Linked DNA regions of Homo sapiens: regions 2 and 3 are each linked to region 1. Evidence: promoter capture Hi-C in human tissues and cell types (Jung and others, 2019). All regions are on one chromosome and are shown on one strand. The core of a region is centred on a gene start or on the middle of the fragment in contact, and the rest is flanking DNA. Distances in the headings are between cores, read along the strand shown.

What was found. The method cuts DNA at HindIII sites, captures the fragments that hold promoters and counts their contacts. A contact is called where the count stands out against the background at its distance.
Region 2: a fragment that was not itself captured here is called in contact with the fragment with the promoter of FAM169A in region 1 in 1 of the 25 tissues and cell types used here (hippocampus).
Region 3: a fragment that was not itself captured here is called in contact with the fragment with the promoter of FAM169A in region 1 in 1 of the 25 tissues and cell types used here (heart left ventricle).

The regions. Positions count from the first base shown.
Region 1 is chr5:74,865,105-74,867,650 of GRCh38, forward strand. FAM169A (family with sequence similarity 169 member A) reads right to left here and starts at 1,283. Exons shown (of 13, transcript NM_001376049.1): 1 at 1,061-1,283. It overlaps FAM169A-AS1 (FAM169A antisense RNA 1), which reads left to right and starts at 789. Exons shown (of 1, transcript NR_134288.1): 1 at 789-2,171. RefSeq lists silencers at 730-899, 970-1,219. The HindIII fragment of the contact is 6,065 bases long and covers 1-2,546 here.
Region 2 is chr5:76,733,507-76,736,052 of GRCh38, forward strand. It overlaps F2R (coagulation factor II thrombin receptor), which reads left to right. Exons shown (of 2, transcript NM_001992.5): 2 at 1-2,264. Among named protein-coding and RNA genes, the nearest start is that of F2R, 19 kb to the left of the region's middle. The HindIII fragment of the contact is 3,178 bases long and covers 1-2,546 here.
Region 3 is chr5:73,568,785-73,571,330 of GRCh38, forward strand. It overlaps UTP15 (UTP15 small subunit processome component), which reads left to right. Exons shown (of 13, transcript NM_032175.4): 5 at 713-891; 6 at 1,802-1,927. Among named protein-coding and RNA genes, the nearest start is that of UTP15, 4.3 kb to the left of the region's middle. The HindIII fragment of the contact is 7,294 bases long and covers 1-2,546 here.

The sequences.
Region 1 (2,546 bases), core at 33-2,532:
TGTGATGCAATGACAAAATATAAATGGCTTGGGTATAATCTGCTCAGTTCGTAAGTAGTAATTCGCAAGAAGCCAACGAATTAAAAGAATTCCCAAATTCTCAGGAACCTTGAAAATGACAAATTGTGTCACAGTTCTGTGAGAATCACAATGAAAACTTTCCCTTCTGGAAATTTTTTAGAAATATGTCCCTCCGGTCCCAATCCCCCAAAAACCCGTACACACGTTTTAATTTACGTTAGGAACGGCTCTCCCAGCGGGGGAAGGTGACCTGCATCAGGTGGTTATCTTCGAATCCACCCGATACGATACCCACGCCGCTTCCCAGACGCTGAAAAGCCAGTGAGATGCTTCATCCTTTCTCCCCAAGGACAGTCATGGGAGTCAGTGTAATCCAGACCCCCGAGCCATAAACCACCCAGGGTTCAAGGCTTCACCTCCTGAGGCACAGGCCTCTTGAAAAATGGCATAATGGAGAGCTGAGAACACAATTAGGACAAAACTGCAACGACCAGCATTCCAGAGGAGGGAGAATCATACAATATCTGTTCCAAAAGTAGTTACAGGTAAAGGAAGGCGGTCAGAGCATCTCTGGAGGCCACCTGGTCGGGTGAACCGAGTCTAAACGCTGAAGTTCCACACCTCCCCGAGTCCGCGTCTCCCCAAGCCAAAGCAATCAGCTCGCACGCCAAGCATCCAGGTGGGGAGAGGGCGAGGGGAGGGGGCGGCAAGCCGCAGCTGCGAACCGGCCCGCGGCGGAGGCGAGCGAAGACGGGCATTCCCTCACACAAAATGGTGGCGCCGAGGCGGAGGCCGGCGCACCTGGGGGCGCCACACGCCCTACGGGATCCCCGCAGACCGCCGCCAGCTGGACGCGAGCCCCGGGTCCAGGCGGCCCGCACTGGTCTGCGCCAGGCCCAGCCCGCAGGGGCCGCCCACAGCCGGTGGCCCGCGTCGCCGCTCGGTGTCCGCGGGTCTGGTGCTGGCGGGGGCGCGGGGCCCGGCGCGGCCGTCTCGGCCTCACCCAGCGGTCCGCGCCGGGGAGAGGGAGCGCACTCACCTCAGACGCGCCCCGGGAGCCGCTGGAAGAGCCCGGGAAAGGAGGCGGAGCCGCGCGAATGAATGGAGCCGGCGGCTGCTCGCTGGCGACCTCCGGCCGGTCCCAGGCCGCACAGCTCGCGGCTGCCAGGGCGAGTGCGGCTGCCTCCCGCTCGCCCCGGACGCCCGGCTCCTCGTCGCGGGTCGGCCGCGGCCCACCGTGCCCTCCGACGACGTGACGCACTAGCGCCGCAGCGCCTCCAGCCTTCGCTTCCGCTCCGCGCCCGCGCCCACCGCGAATCCCCCCGCCCGCCAGCGCGGAGCGGCCCCTCCTCGGAGCCTGGGACGCCGCCCTGCCTCCCTCCAGCCCCGGCTTTCAGGCGCCGGCCCGGCAGGTGCGGGCTTGGCCAGCCCGGGGGCGTCACGCGGCCCCCGCCTCGCCACCCGCGCCCCCTCTCTCCGCCCCGGCCGCCGTCACCCGGCAGCGCGACGCCCAGCTCAGGGCAATGGCCTGGTATTAAAGAGTGACCTTGGCTTAGATATAAAAATAGATGCGGTTAAGCCGCGGGGGCTGCAACGCTGATTTTGCGTATTCCTTTAATGCCGACCTTCGCAGGATTCTGTTCGCATAGCCCGGTGGAGTTCTCCAGCCCCGCGTAGGCCCTCCTGAAATTTACCCAGAGTGGGCGCGGCCATCCCGGCCTCGGGACAGGGGTGCAGAGGGCACGGGCGAGGACCGCCGGCCTCCGCCCCACCACTTTCATCCTAAACCTACTGCCACTTAGGTGCATGCAAGTTAGAATCGTGGGCTGCTTTCACAGTCTACAGAAGTCCTAGAGCCCGGACTTTCATCTGGAGATGTCAGGGAAATACCACATTCCTGCGCTGACCTTTTCTCTTTCACCGTTTAACCGGTACAGAATAACCCTGACCCAGAAAGACAACAGGGTTCCATCCGGCTTTCCTCCCGTGCCTCTCCCAGCTCTATTCTACCGTCTTATGGCCTCTGGCGCCTTTGCTAATTACACACTCCTACTGAAAATTAGCCCTCCAGCATTTAAAACATGATAAATTGTCTTTAAGGTAATGCGTATTGTAGTCTAAATATATTTAATAACTGTATTGAGAAACAATATTGTATCTAAGTATTAATGTCAAGACTTTCTTTTACTCATCATCCAAGAACCGTAGTATTATGTTCAGCTCATCCAGAAAAGTTGAAAATTGCTTCTTTCATTCCTGGGAAATATTTAGCAATCACAATACCAACTTTCACGAATTTACTAATGATTAGCAAAATTAGCAAGATCAAAAAATACTTCAAAGAATGCTTGTTGATATAGATATATTTGACCCTGATTTTTAAAAAAAGCTTTTCTGCCATATAAGAATCTATTGTTTCATTTGTATAATATTTAATTAGCCAAAATCTTTACTATTACACATCATTTACCATTTTAATGAAACTTAATGAATTAGATTTAATAGAGCAGGAATTTTGGGTAGTT
Region 2 (2,546 bases), core at 26-2,525, 1.9 Mb after region 1:
AAGGGACTGCTGGGAGGTTAAAAAGAAAAGTTTATAAAAGTGAATAACCTGAGGATTCTATTAGTCCCCACCCAAACTTTATTGATTCACCTCCTAAAACAACAGATGTACGACTTGCATACCTGCTTTTTATGGGAGCTGTCAAGCATGTATTTTTGTCAATTACCAGAAAGATAACAGGACGAGATGACGGTGTTATTCCAAGGGAATATTGCCAATGCTACAGTAATAAATGAATGTCACTTCTGGATATAGCTAGGTGACATATACATACTTACATGTGTGTATATGTAGATGTATGCACACACATATATTATTTGCAGTGCAGTATAGAATAGGCACTTTAAAACACTCTTTCCCCGCACCCCAGCAATTATGAAAATAATCTCTGATTCCCTGATTTAATATGCAAAGTCTAGGTTGGTAGAGTTTAGCCCTGAACATTTCATGGTGTTCATCAACAGTGAGAGACTCCATAGTTTGGGCTTGTACCACTTTTGCAAATAAGTGTATTTTGAAATTGTTTGACGGCAAGGTTTAAGTTATTAAGAGGTAAGACTTAGTACTATCTGTGCGTAGAAGTTCTAGTGTTTTCAATTTTAAACATATCCAAGTTTGAATTCCTAAAATTATGGAAACAGATGAAAAGCCTCTGTTTTGATATGGGTAGTATTTTTTACATTTTACACACTGTACACATAAGCCAAAACTGAGCATAAGTCCTCTAGTGAATGTAGGCTGGCTTTCAGAGTAGGCTATTCCTGAGAGCTGCATGTGTCCGCCCCCGATGGAGGACTCCAGGCAGCAGACACATGCCAGGGCCATGTCAGACACAGATTGGCCAGAAACCTTCCTGCTGAGCCTCACAGCAGTGAGACTGGGGCCACTACATTTGCTCCATCCTCCTGGGATTGGCTGTGAACTGATCATGTTTATGAGAAACTGGCAAAGCAGAATGTGATATCCTAGGAGGTAATGACCATGAAAGACTTCTCTACCCATCTTAAAAACAACGAAAGAAGGCATGGACTTCTGGATGCCCATCCACTGGGTGTAAACACATCTAGTAGTTGTTCTGAAATGTCAGTTCTGATATGGAAGCACCCATTATGCGCTGTGGCCACTCCAATAGGTGCTGAGTGTACAGAGTGGAATAAGACAGAGACCTGCCCTCAAGAGCAAAGTAGATCATGCATAGAGTGTGATGTATGTGTAATAAATATGTTTCACACAAACAAGGCCTGTCAGCTAAAGAAGTTTGAACATTTGGGTTACTATTTCTTGTGGTTATAACTTAATGAAAACAATGCAGTACAGGACATATATTTTTTAAAATAAGTCTGATTTAATTGGGCACTATTTATTTACAAATGTTTTGCTCAATAGATTGCTCAAATCAGGTTTTCTTTTAAGAATCAATCATGTCAGTCTGCTTAGAAATAACAGAAGAAAATAGAATTGACATTGAAATCTAGGAAAATTATTCTATAATTTCCATTTACTTAAGACTTAATGAGACTTTAAAAGCATTTTTTAACCTCCTAAGTATCAAGTATAGAAAATCTTCATGGAATTCACAAAGTAATTTGGAAATTAGGTTGAAACATATCTCTTATCTTACGAAAAAATGGTAGCATTTTAAACAAAATAGAAAGTTGCAAGGCAAATGTTTATTTAAAAGAGCAGGCCAGGCGCGGTGGCTCACGCCTGTAATCCCAGCACTTTGGGAGGCTGAGGCGGGTGGATCACGAGGTCAGGAGATCGAGACCATCCTGGCTAACACGGTGAAACCCGTCTCTACTAAAAATGCAAAAAAAATTAGCCGGGCGTGGTGGCAGGCACCTGTAGTCCCAGCTACTCGGGAGGCTGAGGCAGGAGACTGGCGTGAACCCAGGAGGCGGACCTTGTAGTGAGCCGAGATCGCGCCACTGTGCTCCAGCCTGGGCAACAGAGCAAGACTCCATCTCAAAAAATAAAAATAAATAAAAAATAAAAAAATAAAAGAGCAAACTATTTCCAAATACCATAGAATAACTTACATAAAAGTAATATAACTGTATTGTAAGTAGAAGCTAGCACTGGTTTTATTAATTTAGTGACTATTCATTTTATCTAAATCAGTGAAGATTTACTGTCATTGTTTATTAGTCTGTATATATTAAAATATGATATCATTAATGTACTTACAAAATAGTATGTCACTGTTTTTATGTTCATTCTTAAAAACATAACCTGTATTAATAAATGTGAACATTTGCTTGGTATCTCTTTGGAACAAATTAGTATTATATCTTTCTGGTCCTGGCACACTTTAAGGGTTTAACTGAAGAGCATTTAATGAAGAGGTGATTTACAAAGGTGTAGACAGGGTTAAGGGAACCAACGGGGACTGGTGAAGCACCCCCCAGAGACTAGCAATCAGGGGAAGCCATTACTGCCAAGGCCCAGGTACAGGAGGGAACACACTGACGCCTCTCCCTCACCCTCTGATCTCTTGGGAGGCCTCCCCTTGATCCTAATCTTAACCCAATACCCAGAGTGAAGTA
Region 3 (2,546 bases), core at 34-2,533, 1.3 Mb before region 1:
TTATGAATTCCCTAGAATTGTATGTGATATTTTAGGAAATACACGTTTATCTAGGGAGCTACTCTGTAGCTTTTGGTTAACTTTAGTGGGGTCTGTGGCCCAGCTGAGATTATGAATTACTGACCTGAAGACAACCTTACAGCTGGTAATGACAGCTCTATAGGCCTGTACTGTCTTAGAGGCTCTTATGTTGAAGTCAAGTAGGAAGGTGGATTTTCTTCTTGAATTTATAGTGTTTTGCCCCTTAATAAATTAAGTGGCCATCACAATTTTATATTATAACTTTGTTTTCAGGATTGCCAATGTCCGTGCTGAAATTTGTTAAAATTTAACAGAAATTTATGTAACATGATTCTATTTAGTGGTAAATCTCTTTAGAGTTTTTTAAAGAACTTTTTGAAATTTTAAAAATTAAAGTGCCTTTGCTTCCATATTCAGCAGCTAAGTGGAATTGTTTATATACTAGAAAATATAATTTTAAGGCTATCCTTTAATTTTTTTTAACTTTACAATATAGGAGTATTTACACTTCTTAATTGGTTTGGGGGCAAACACTTGTAAGTTTTCTCTTTCTTTCATGATTTCCCCCTATGAAGACTCCCTGAAACTCAGCTGCTTTTTTTTTAATCTGAGAAAAAGGAGCATTTTATGTTAGAAGGTATCAGAAAAATAATTTTCTTGCTTTTTAATATACTGACCTTCAATCTTTCAGAGCAGTTCATACAGTAGATTTTACAGCTGACAAATATCACGTGGTCTCTGGGGCTGATGATTATACAGTTAAATTATGGGATATTCCAAACTCCAAAGAAATTTTGACATTTAAAGAACACTCTGATTATGTGAGGTGTGGATGTGCTAGCAAACTTAATCCGGATCTCTTTATAACAGGTTGGTGAACTCTATTCCCTCCTGAAGCAAATAATCTCACGGGGATGTACTTTAATGTTGCTATGGGACTCTTTTGGGATGGAGGGGTTTAAATTTTTTTTATAAAGGAATATGTTTCTGATTAATTCTTCAGTTTTTAAATTAATTTTTATGTATGTATGTTTGCATTTATTTTCAGACAGGGTCTCACTCTGTTGCCCAGGCTGGAGTGCAGTGATGTGACCATAGCTCACTGCATCTGCTACCTCCTGGGCTCAAGTGATCCTCCCACATAAGCCTCCCAAGTAGCTGGGACTACAGGTGCCCACCACCACGTCCAGCTACTTTGTGTATTTTTTTGTAGAGACGGTTTTGCCATGTTGCCCAGGCTGGTCTCGAACTCCTGGGCTCAAGTGATCCACCTACCTCAATTTCCTCCCGGAGGACTGGGATTACAAGTGTGAGCCACCATGCCTGGCTTCCAATTGTTTTTTATTTTCTTATTCTTCTTTTGTTGATTGTTCATGTCTTCCAAATGTGTTTGGAAAAATCAGGCTGTCTTGAAAACATAATAGACTCTCAGAACTGTAATGTATAGTACCCTGCCTCAAGCAGCCAAGAAACAAAGAGTGCAGTTTAGCCTTTGTGGGTGCCTTTACAAAGATTTCCAGATGATTCAGTAGTGACAGTAGTCCAAAGAAAGAAATATTTTAAGATCAGAGCAAGTTAGATTCTGTATAGTATTATGTAGTGCTTCTTCAGACACGATCAGTAGTAGATGGTTTGGAGGTCCTGTGTCTTCATGAATATACATATATGTCTTTTTAAAACTCCATCTAAGCTTTTTTTCCTTTTAAAATTTATATCTGGATACACACAGTTTTTGTTGTTTTAAACAGTCAAACTAAAAATTCAAAAATTGACATTTTAGGATCATATGATCATACTGTGAAGATGTTTGATGCACGAACGAGTGAGAGTGTTCTCTCCGTTGAGCATGGGCAGCCAGTGGAGAGTGTCCTACTTTTCCCCTCTGGAGGTCTTCTGGTGTCAGCAGGTACTTCTTAAAAATAGCTTTCACCAATATTGTTGGTTTTGAATCACGTTTGTTTAAAATCAGTTGCTCTTTGTAATTTATCAGTGTGCATTTGAATTGCATATCTAAGTCTTTGTTCAAACAGTTGATAGGTAGGACTGGCAAGCAGTTATCATTTATTGTGTACCTAATGTGAGCCAGGCACTGTGCTGTTACATATGAACTCTAATGCCCTAGATGATGCTACAAGGTAGTTAGCTTTTTCCCTACTTTACAGCAATGAAATAAAAGTTTTAACTTATTTTTCAAGGCAAAGTGGTAAGTGGCAGATCTGAAATCACAGAACTCGAGAGCTCTGTGTATTTAGCCCTGTGCCATCTTATTTATTTAGCCCTGTGCCATCTTATTTAACCCCAGAAATTTAGCCCTGTGCCATCTTATTTAACCCCAGAAATTTAGCTCTTATGTATTTAGCCCTGTGCCATCTTATTTAACCCCAGAAATTTAGCTCATACTCCTTTTACTCCTACCTAAGAGATCTGCAGCAGCTTTTGAAAATCAGTTATTTGAGATCTAGTAGGCTTGTCTCTTTTTCTGTGACTCTCTTGATTGAAATGCCACTACCCAGCAAATAGCTGCT